Regions from separate parts of the Homo sapiens genome. Here region 2 is linked to region 1. The links are contacts of gene promoters, found by promoter capture Hi-C in blood cells and fetal thymus (Javierre and others, 2016). All regions are on one chromosome and are shown on one strand. Each heading gives the region's core, a stretch centred on a gene start or on the middle of the fragment in contact. The rest is flanking DNA. Distances are from core to core; before and after follow the strand shown.

What was found. Contacts are between HindIII fragments. The CHiCAGO score rates a contact against its expected background, and 5 or more counts as called.
Region 2: the fragment with the promoter of PIP here is called in contact with the fragment with the promoter of TAS2R60 in region 1 in 10 of 17 cell types (neutrophils, naive CD8 T cells, total CD4 T cells and 7 more); the score reaches 18.1 in neutrophils.

The regions. Positions count from the first base shown.
Region 1 is chr7:143,439,734-143,444,708 of GRCh38, forward strand. TAS2R60 (taste 2 receptor member 60) reads left to right here and starts at 3,720. Exons shown (of 1, transcript NM_177437.1): 1 at 3,720-4,676. The coding sequence starts at 3,720. The coding sequence ends at 4,676. All of the region lies in intron 2 of EPHA1-AS1 (EPHA1 antisense RNA 1), which reads left to right. The HindIII fragment of the contact is 8,585 bases long and covers 1-4,975 here.
Region 2 is chr7:143,129,581-143,134,435 of GRCh38, forward strand. It overlaps PIP (prolactin induced protein), which reads left to right and starts at 2,497. Exons shown (of 4, transcript NM_002652.3): 1 at 2,497-2,631. The coding sequence starts at 2,537. The HindIII fragment of the contact is 4,172 bases long and covers 281-4,452 here.

The DNA of each region.
Region 1 (4,975 bases), core at 2,470-4,969:
AAAGTATGGAGACCGATAGACTAAAAGAGATTGGGAAAAACACTGCACACAGTTAAGAGAGATTCATATGTTTGAACTAGTCAAAATAGAAGCAGTAAATAACAGGACAGAACAGAGGTTACAAAGAATTTTCAAATAGATAAATGCGTGTAAGGTCAAATGTCCAATAATACCAGGAAGCTGAGGCCCCAAAACATTATGCTACAATGCTAGCTGGAGGCCAGGATATGGCAAGAGAAGAGAGAGGGATGACTAGAGGCAAGATAACAAGATCAGGAATTTTCTCTTGCAAGAGGATGATTAAAGGTTTAAAAGAGGAGATTCTCAAGTTGCTGTTGAGGAACCCAGGGGGATTTCCCCAGGGGGTAGAGCAAGGGTGAGGCAGGATGGAGGAACCTGTGGGGAGCTGGCACTGTGGCCAGGCTTTAAATTAAATAGACACCTAAAGTCTGTGAATTATCCCACCTAGAGAACATGTATTATCCTCATCATCAATCACGAAGAATTTTTCTTTTTCTTTGTAGCAACATGAGTGAGCTAATGACTTCCTACAGGTAGATTAATAATAAATTATGAGACTGAGCCTTGCGGCTCAAGCCACAAGTTGGTTGGAGGCAGGAAAGACAGGAGCATGGCGGGAGCGGGGAGATCTTTCTCCTCTATCCCTTCTACTCAACTGTGAGCACCTGGAAGACTCTTCCCTTGGGCGGAGCTCCAGAAGTTTACTGAAGGTGTTTGGGTGGGGAGTGGGTGGTGATTCAACTCTCATGTTCTGCTCCATCTTCACAGCCCTTCGAGTGATACCAGGTTAAGTGGACTTGTCTCAGGAGTTCCTAATTGATGTTCTCAATCTCCTTTTTAAAACTCTAGCTCATAAAAGCCCCAAAACACTTGGTGGCTCTGTCTTGACTAAAGATACAATCTAATATCTCATCAAGGCTTCCAAAATTTTCTGTGATCTCTCTCCAGCCTACCTTTTTGGCTTGATATGCCATCTTCTCTATGTAAGTCCTCTGTTGTAGCTAAATGTATCTAATTGTTCTGGATATAATCATGTATCCCCCTCCTTTACTGATGCCTCATCTTTTTCCTTCCAACATGCAAGACAGCATCTTTATTGTCTCACAATTATGGGGCTGTTACTTCTCAACTCTTCTGAGAGATCTTGGGATGGGAATAGCAAGATCCCTAACACATAGAGCCACAGACTGGGAGTCACTTGTTGAGAGTACTGAGTTGAAGGTTTTCCATATAGAGAGCTAACTCAGGATCCCTATCCTACTACCCTCATGATTACATTTATAAAGACTGGTTATGAAAAGTTAAAAACTCTCAGACTTGACTTTTACCTAAGAAGATAAATCTAGACATGAGAAAGCCAAATGCAACAAACAAACAAACAAACAACAAACAACAAAAGAATCACCACGAAACACATTGCATATTTAAATTCAAATGATTATTCCCTCTTTTGGATTAACTTACTCTGCACATAGTATATGTCCAGTAAATGTTTGTGGTTTATGTTTAGCCCATAAAAGTGCTTTGAAGGCAGATATCTAATTCACTGTTGTAGCCCAATGTCTTTCAAAGGGTTATCATGGCATATAGGATATGCTTAATAAATTATTATTAAATGAATTGAAGGTTAAATGCACATCTTTATCATTGAAGGTGTGGGAGGTGGATGAAAAAGATTCAAGTTTTCCATATTGGGCGGTTTGTAGGTGGCCATACTCCAGAGCTATAAGCCCGAAGTTTGCCCCATTTCTCCAAGTTCCAGTAGAAAACAGCCAAATGTCAGCCAGAAGAACAAGGGCAAGGAAGAGAGCAGTTGGGAACTCTATCTCCTGGAAATTTGCATCTTCACAGAAAGGCAGAGTGAATTACCTTAGTTCATCTTATTTCCTTTACTCCGAAGACCTATGTCCACTATGGTTGGCGTATGTGTTAAAGAAACAATTCCACCTGGAAGTGGACTACTGGGAAGTAGACTGGGAACTGGGAAGAGATGCTGACATGCGTTCTATTCCCTTTTTGTGGGGGTCCTATATATGGAACTGGTAGGTTGTGGTGTCAGCAGATGTGTATTCATTACAAATCCCCTTACTGTCATGTTACTTGATCCTGAGCCTTCAATATTGCTGTATTTGACCCAGAACAATTCCTGCTTTCCTATCTCCCTGTGACACGTTAACCTACTTACACTCACCTGGGTGTTGATTGCTGATTTTTTTGACTCTTTGAAGCTGATTTCTATAAAGAATGTGGTCTTTTTTTTACTCTGTCCTTCTCTGGTTGATATCAGTGGTCTGACATTTGGTGCCCTGAACTTCTGTTGCATCCCTGATGCTCTCCTGAATTCTCCTTATGCTACTTATTATGCCACAGGATGGATGGAATAGAAGATAGCCATTCTAATAAAGTAATTGTCATCATCATCATTGCTCCTTGTCCATATGCAGAGGTTTATAATTTCCAATATATTTACCATATTTATGGTCATATTTATTTGTGACCCATATTTTTTATAGGTGAAGAAAGGGGGGTGTTCAGAGAGGTTAACTGCTTGAGGATCCGTAGTGATTGTGACAAGACTCAAAACTTGGGCTTCTGAGTTCAGCTAGGGATGAAGAAGATGGAGGTGTAACATGTATTGCTAACCATGGCAGAGATTCCTGGTCCTGGAATCAGTTTGGATCTTGGTCTTTCCTCTGTGTAACTGTGACTTTAGGTGGGAGTTGTAATATATAATTTGGGGTCTTATTTCTTTTATCTGTAAGATTATCTTTCATGTCTTCTTTCATTCTAAGCCGAGATTCTAAGACATCTTTGTGAATTAGAACATAGGATACTTTTCATATTTTACAGATGGACAAAATGAGGCGCAGAGGGGCTGACATATCCAGCAACTCACAGTAAGGGGTAAAGTTTGGACTAAAGGCTGTCTCGACTCCTAGCACAGGGCTCATTCTGCCATATCCCATTGGCTTATCGCTACTGGGGGTTCCTCTGTGAAGTGCTATTTTAGAGGCCACCAGTTATCAAATATATATTTTTAAATTTTGAAAAAAGTTGCCTGCCTCATTATGTATAATTGTCTCCAGTGTTCTTTTTTTATGATGATGGTCACTGTGAGTAATAAGACTTGAATTAATCCTTCTCTGTAAAGGTTTGCTCAGTTTTCTCTCTGTCTCAGTTAAAGGGGTCTTGCCATACTACTCCCCGCATAGAGTTGTTGTGAGAACTAAGGAGAGCACTCAGAACAATGCCTGCAACATAACAATCACCCCCCCCCCGTGGATGTGAGCGCTGTCTCAGTAGCGGGTGTGCCCCACGGATGATACTACTGAGCTGGCAGGTGCATGGTCCTGTCATAGGTGTCCGCTTAGAGAAGTATAACCTCCTGTGTAAGGACACTAAATGCCAGGGCCTGATATATTATCCACTTTGATGTTGACATGGGCAGAGAATAGGCAGAAGAGCAGGCAAATTTTTGGGCAGGTATGGGGACTTTGAAAATTGAGCCTTGACAATATTTGCATCTACTCTGAGAAGAAAAAACCTCTCACCCTCCTCTGATAGCCTGCGTCCTCTACTCTGGCCTAGCTTCTGCGCTTGGGGCAGCTGGAGGGACAAACATATCCTACAGGACCTTCCAGAGCAACCCAACAGAGATAGCCCTTGAAGTTTTGGGACCCATCTTGTCCACCAGAGAGATGAATGGAGACCACATGGTTCTAGGATCTTCGGTGACTGACAAGAAGGCCATCATCTTGGTTACCATTTTACTCCTTTTACGCCTGGTAGCAATAGCAGGCAATGGCTTCATCACTGCTGCTCTGGGCGTGGAGTGGGTGCTACGGAGAATGTTGTTGCCTTGTGATAAGTTATTGGTTAGCCTAGGGGCCTCTCGCTTCTGTCTGCAGTCAGTGGTAATGGGTAAGACCATTTATGTTTTCTTGCATCCGATGGCCTTCCCATACAACCCTGTACTGCAGTTTCTAGCTTTCCAGTGGGACTTCCTGAATGCTGCCACCTTATGGTCCTCTACCTGGCTCAGTGTCTTCTATTGTGTGAAAATTGCTACCTTCACCCACCCTGTCTTCTTCTGGCTAAAGCACAAGTTGTCTGGGTGGCTACCATGGATGCTCTTCAGCTCTGTAGGGCTCTCCAGCTTCACCACCATTCTATTTTTCATAGGCAACCACAGAATGTATCAGAACTATTTAAGGAACCATCTACAACCTTGGAATGTCACTGGCGATAGCATACGGAGCTACTGTGAGAAATTCTATCTCTTCCCTCTAAAAATGATTACTTGGACAATGCCCACTGCTGTCTTTTTCATTTGCATGATTTTGCTCATCACATCTCTGGGAAGACACAGGAAGAAGGCTCTCCTTACAACCTCAGGATTCCGAGAGCCCAGTGTGCAGGCACACATAAAGGCTCTGCTGGCTCTCCTCTCTTTTGCCATGCTCTTCATCTCATATTTCCTGTCACTGGTGTTCAGTGCTGCAGGTATTTTTCCACCTCTGGACTTTAAATTCTGGGTGTGGGAGTCAGTGATTTATCTGTGTGCAGCAGTTCACCCCATCATTCTGCTCTTCAGCAACTGCAGGCTGAGAGCTGTGCTGAAGAGTCGTCGTTCCTCAAGGTGTGGGACACCTTGAGCCACAGCTGATGAAAAACTTCAAGGAGATTCTTGTGGAGAAGGCATGGACTCAAAGGGACATAGCTTCTCTCTTTGCCACATTGAATGTTTTCTCTCTGTTGCTACAGTTAATGATTAGAAAAATAACTTCAATGAAATAGGATACAAGGTGAGAGTAAAGGTCCTGAAATATGGGCTAGTGTCATGTTATGTACTCACCAAGTGCATAGTTCATGTGGCCATGGTTCCTGTGGGACCTGATGTGGTCAAAGAATCCAGAAGCCTTTATTTTTCCTGTGATCGATCTCTTCGTATTTA
Region 2 (4,855 bases), core at 1,247-3,746, 310 kb before region 1:
TATAACTCCCTCTCTGTCCACTCCTTATCTTCTTCTCATGAGCCCTGTCAGGACTAAGATTATCTTTCTCTTTGTAAACTTAGCCTGTGGCAAGCCTCACCTATATTCTAACTCTTTCCCTATGGGACTATACACATTCTCTTCTGTAAGCTTCCTGAGTTGTTTACAATCTGATTTTATCAACCTTTATCTGATTTCTTAAACCTAGACTTGTTCATTCTTTATGGCATAATAATTATGGTTTCTTTTTCTCCCTAATCTTCTTCCTCAAGGGACCTCAAGCTTTTCTCTTAAGACTTTCAACTGATCCAATGAGTCTGACCCATATTATGGAGGTAATCTGTTTTACTCAAATTTTACTGATTTAAATGTTAATCACATTTAAAACAAACAAACAAACAACAACTTCACAGCAACTTCTAAACTGTTGTTTTTCCAAAAAGTGGGCACCATGCCTAGCTAAGCTAACAAATAAAAGTAACCATCACAGCAGTCATGGCCTGAATAAGACTTGTCCTAGGCCAGGCACAGTGGCTCACACCTGTAATCCCAGCAATTTGGGAGGCCGAGGCAGGTGGATCACTTGAGGTCAGGAATGTAAGATCAGCTTGGCCAACATGGTGAAACCCCATCTCTACCAAAAATACAAAAATTAGCCGGGTATGGTGGCACCTGCCTATAATCCCCACTACTCGGGTGGCTGAGGCATGAGAATTTCCTGAACCCGGGAGGTGGAGGCTGCAGTGAGCTGAGATCATGCCACTGCACTCCAGCCTGGATGAGTGAGATTCTGTCTCAAAAAAAAAAGATTGTCCTGTACATTGTAGGTATTGCAGTTTCCTGCTAGCTCACAGAAGAACAGCCTCATTACCTTCAATAGATGCTCTTAACCCATCGTCATCTGCCTTCCTCTGGACACTGCCTTTTGGGAGTGCTGGAGTTGCATCCTCAAGGACAGGGCTATGCCTTCAAAGAGCCAAGCAAAGAACTTTTCCTGCATTTTCCCACACAGACACTTCCTAGATTCTTCTGCCTTATGCCTGCCTTGGTCAGTGTAGCTAGGATGTGCTTCAAATGGAAATTATGCAAGTGAGAAGGACCAGGTGTAAAGACAATTTAATTGTGGGAAAAGGCTTACAAAGGAAGGTCATTGTGACCCTCACAAGCAGTGTTCTTGAGTGGATAGGACATAAACAGGGAAGAAAGCATGTGATCATGAGAACAGCTGAAGTTCTGAGTGAGCAATGACATGAATGGTGTCCAATTCAAAGAAAAGAGAAGGTAGATCCAGGAGCTGAATAAACAGACAGAGCAATTTTGAGAGATACATCCAGAAAGCAGAAGCACACACTTACACTTTAGCTCTGAATCCTGGCTAAAGCAACATACAGAGGCGGTAACTCCTAGAACTCTGATTTTCACTCTGTTGCCAGAGAGGCTCTTCCTGGGCAGCTGTGTGCCATGCAAATGATAGAAACAAATCCCATAGTATTGTAAGTCATAGGTTAAGGAGCAGATTTAATTTCATAAGGAGAAATAACACAATGCCAGTGTCAGCAAGAGCAAGTCTCCCCATCATCCCAAGGAGAGGAATTCTACAACCTGGGTATCTACTGGACATAATGTGGGCTCCATTCTCACAGAAGGAATCCTTTCCACTGTGGTTCTTCCTGTGTGGCTTACGCATGAGACAAGTGTAAGAAAGTGGCCATGTCAATAAGAAAATAAGCCAGCTCTTTGGTGCCAAGAAGTCTGATTTGGGGGTGCCAGCTATTTATAGGAATTGTCTAGAATTAAAATATCACCCTGCCTTGGGGATTGTGGGGCAGCTGGGGATCTTGGACATCTGCAGTATATTGCAACCACACCTGAAATTAAGAAGGACTCAATGACAATAAACATCTTTACATCACCCAGTGTCTTGAACTCACTTCCCCATCATGTAGAGCAGCTCAGGTCTTCTCTAGCTCTTCCACCTCATGATGGGTAGTGACTGCTAGGGAAGTCCTGATCATCCTAGCCCTCCAAGAAATGTTTTGAATAGCATTGCATCTTGAACTCACTATAATTTGATCAAGCAAAGATGTTCTATGTCTCTGGTCTGAAACCTGCCACCACAGCTGTGTTCTCTGCTTTCAGAGACCAGGGGAGCAGTGACTGAAGCTAAGACTACACATAGCACTTCAGACAGGCAAATTAGGAGGGAAAAGAAAACTGAATCTGTAAACTCGGGAAAAACTGGTGTATCTTTTGAGGTCCCAGCCATTTTGAGAAACTCTGATGCTGAAAAAATAAGGAAGAACAATCTGACTCCTCTCTCAAACGCTGACATTCTAGCTGAGTGTTGATTTTTTCTTAGAAAAACAAACTTTGGGTCAACAAGGAAAGATCACGAGTGGGGAGGGTGAATGGGTGATTCACCTCATGGATCTCCCTGGCAGCTCTTGCACTTCCTTGATCAATCTGTATATAAGAAATGTGCTGGGCACCTGGGACACCACTTCTCTGGGACACATTGCCTTCTGTTTTCTCCAGCATGCGCTTGCTCCAGCTCCTGTTCAGGGCCAGCCCTGCCACCCTGCTCCTGGTTCTCTGCCTGCAGTTGGGGGCCAACAAAGCTCAGGACAACACGTGAGCCATGCCCTTCTCCTCCCCACAAAAAAAATTGCAGGGAGGGCTCCTCTCCCAGTCTGGAAATTACATATCTCTTTCTGAGAATTTCTTTCAACTTCCCAGAACTCTAGTCCCAGGAGCTCCCATGGATCTCCTGCCAGGTTCCACTTCTTGTCCTCTTAGGAAGCCCCACCAACTCCTCTCACATTTTTGCTGGGTGTTTCTGCATTGCCAGTGGAAATAAAGCTCCAAATGTACCTACAGGCTGTAATTAGTAGTTAGTCTTCATCTAACATGCTGATCCACATCTTGTTCATAATTTATACCTTTGTTCAGATTTCTGCTCAGTAAACTTTACCTTCTCACACCTTGCCTCCTAGAAGAGAAGCATAACAGGTCTGTGAATTCCAATGGCAGCTTAGGGCAGCTTTGGCAGGACTGGCTAAAGGACCAGAGGCCCTGGCCACTGCCCTGTGGTCTGAGATTGAGCTAGACTGGCAGCTTAGACATTCTTCCTAACCTGAAGTCTGAAGATGAATATGATGACCTCTTGCTCTCACGTATACTGGGACCTGAGAGCACAGGTTCAGAAGTCAACTTATTGAGAACACATGTGTGAAGGAAGCAGAAAAATTGGAGCAAGTAAAATAAAGTAGAAAATGGAGCCAAGGGTCTGGGAGAAAGCAGCGATACCCAATCTAGGGAGTTTTCTCTATAGCAGTAGGGTTTATAATGCTGGGTTTCTGGGTTGTGATCTTGGAGGTACTCTCTATGGCATGGTCAGATATCCTGTCCTGGAGGAAACTGTTCAGGGTTTTGACAAGCTAATGTAATGGAGGCAAGTGTCCCAAGAAACCCTGCATGGGGACAGGTTCAGATCCCACCCCATTCCCGCCAGATGACAGTCCACTTAGCCCTGAAGGGCAGCAAGGTATTCAAATAAGCTATGCTAATTAGGTTATCAACCATCCATCCTGATTTGCCCAGAACTTTCCTGGTTGTAGCACTGCAACTCTGCCCTCCCCCGCCACCTCCACAACCCATTCTGGAAAAGACCTCAGTCCTGGGTAAACTGAGATGGTTAGTCACTCGAACTAAGCTGGTCATCCTATCAATCTGAAACTCATATACAAATGGGAGAGATTTTGAAGTTGCTTAGGTATTTATACCCTTTTCCTGTGCACTGGGCACTACAGCAGTTGGCACCAAAAAATAGAATCTCTCTAAGATGCTTTGCCCCAAGAAAATGGGGCTGTGAGACACTGTGGGCTAAGAATCTCAATTCCCTTCTGTCCCACACAATAACAAAGGTCCGTAGCCGGGAGTTTCTAGGGACGAGAAAATAACTCTCCTGGCCCCGAACCCAGTCCTCATTGACTGAAGAAGAACATTTGACCATTTTATTTGTCTCCATTTCCTTTCCTTTTCAGATTGCAGTGTATGGTCTAAATGTAGAGTAGTATCTAAAGTTCCCAAACATGGCCATATGTCCAAATTTCCTAAGGAGCTAAATAAATACAAATTCCTAAACCCTACCTGGGGACCACAGAAGGAGGATCTTCAAAGATGCTCCTACAAATACCTCCAGTGCATTGAGATGTTTGCTGGGTTTTTAAAATTTTTTATTATTTTATTTTATTTTTCCATAAGTTACTGGGGTACAAGTGGTATTTGGTTACATGAGTAAGTTCTTTAGTGGTGATGAGATTTTGGTGCACCCATCACCCGAGCAGTATACACTGCACCATATTTGTAGTCTTTTAGCCCTCACCCCTCTCCCACTCTTCCCCGCAAGTCCCCAAAGTCCATTGTATCATTCTTATGCTTTTGAGTCCTCAAAGCTTAGCTCCCACATATCAGTGAGAACATACGATGTTTGGTTTTCCATTACTGAGTTACTTCACTTAGAATAATAGTCTCCAATCTCATACAGGTCACTGCAAATGCTGTTAATTCATTCCTTATTATGGCTGAGTAGTAGTATTCCATCATATATATATATATATATATATATATATATATATATATATATATATATATACCACAGTTTCTTTATCCACTCGTTGATTGATGGGCATTTGGGTTGGTTCCACAGTTTTATAATTGTGAATTGTGCTGCTATAAACATGTGTGTGCAAGTATCTTTTTTGAATAATGACTTCTTTTCCTCTGGGTAGATACCCAGTAGTGGGATTGCTGGATCAAATGGTGGTTCTATTTTTAGTTCTTTAAGGAATCTCCA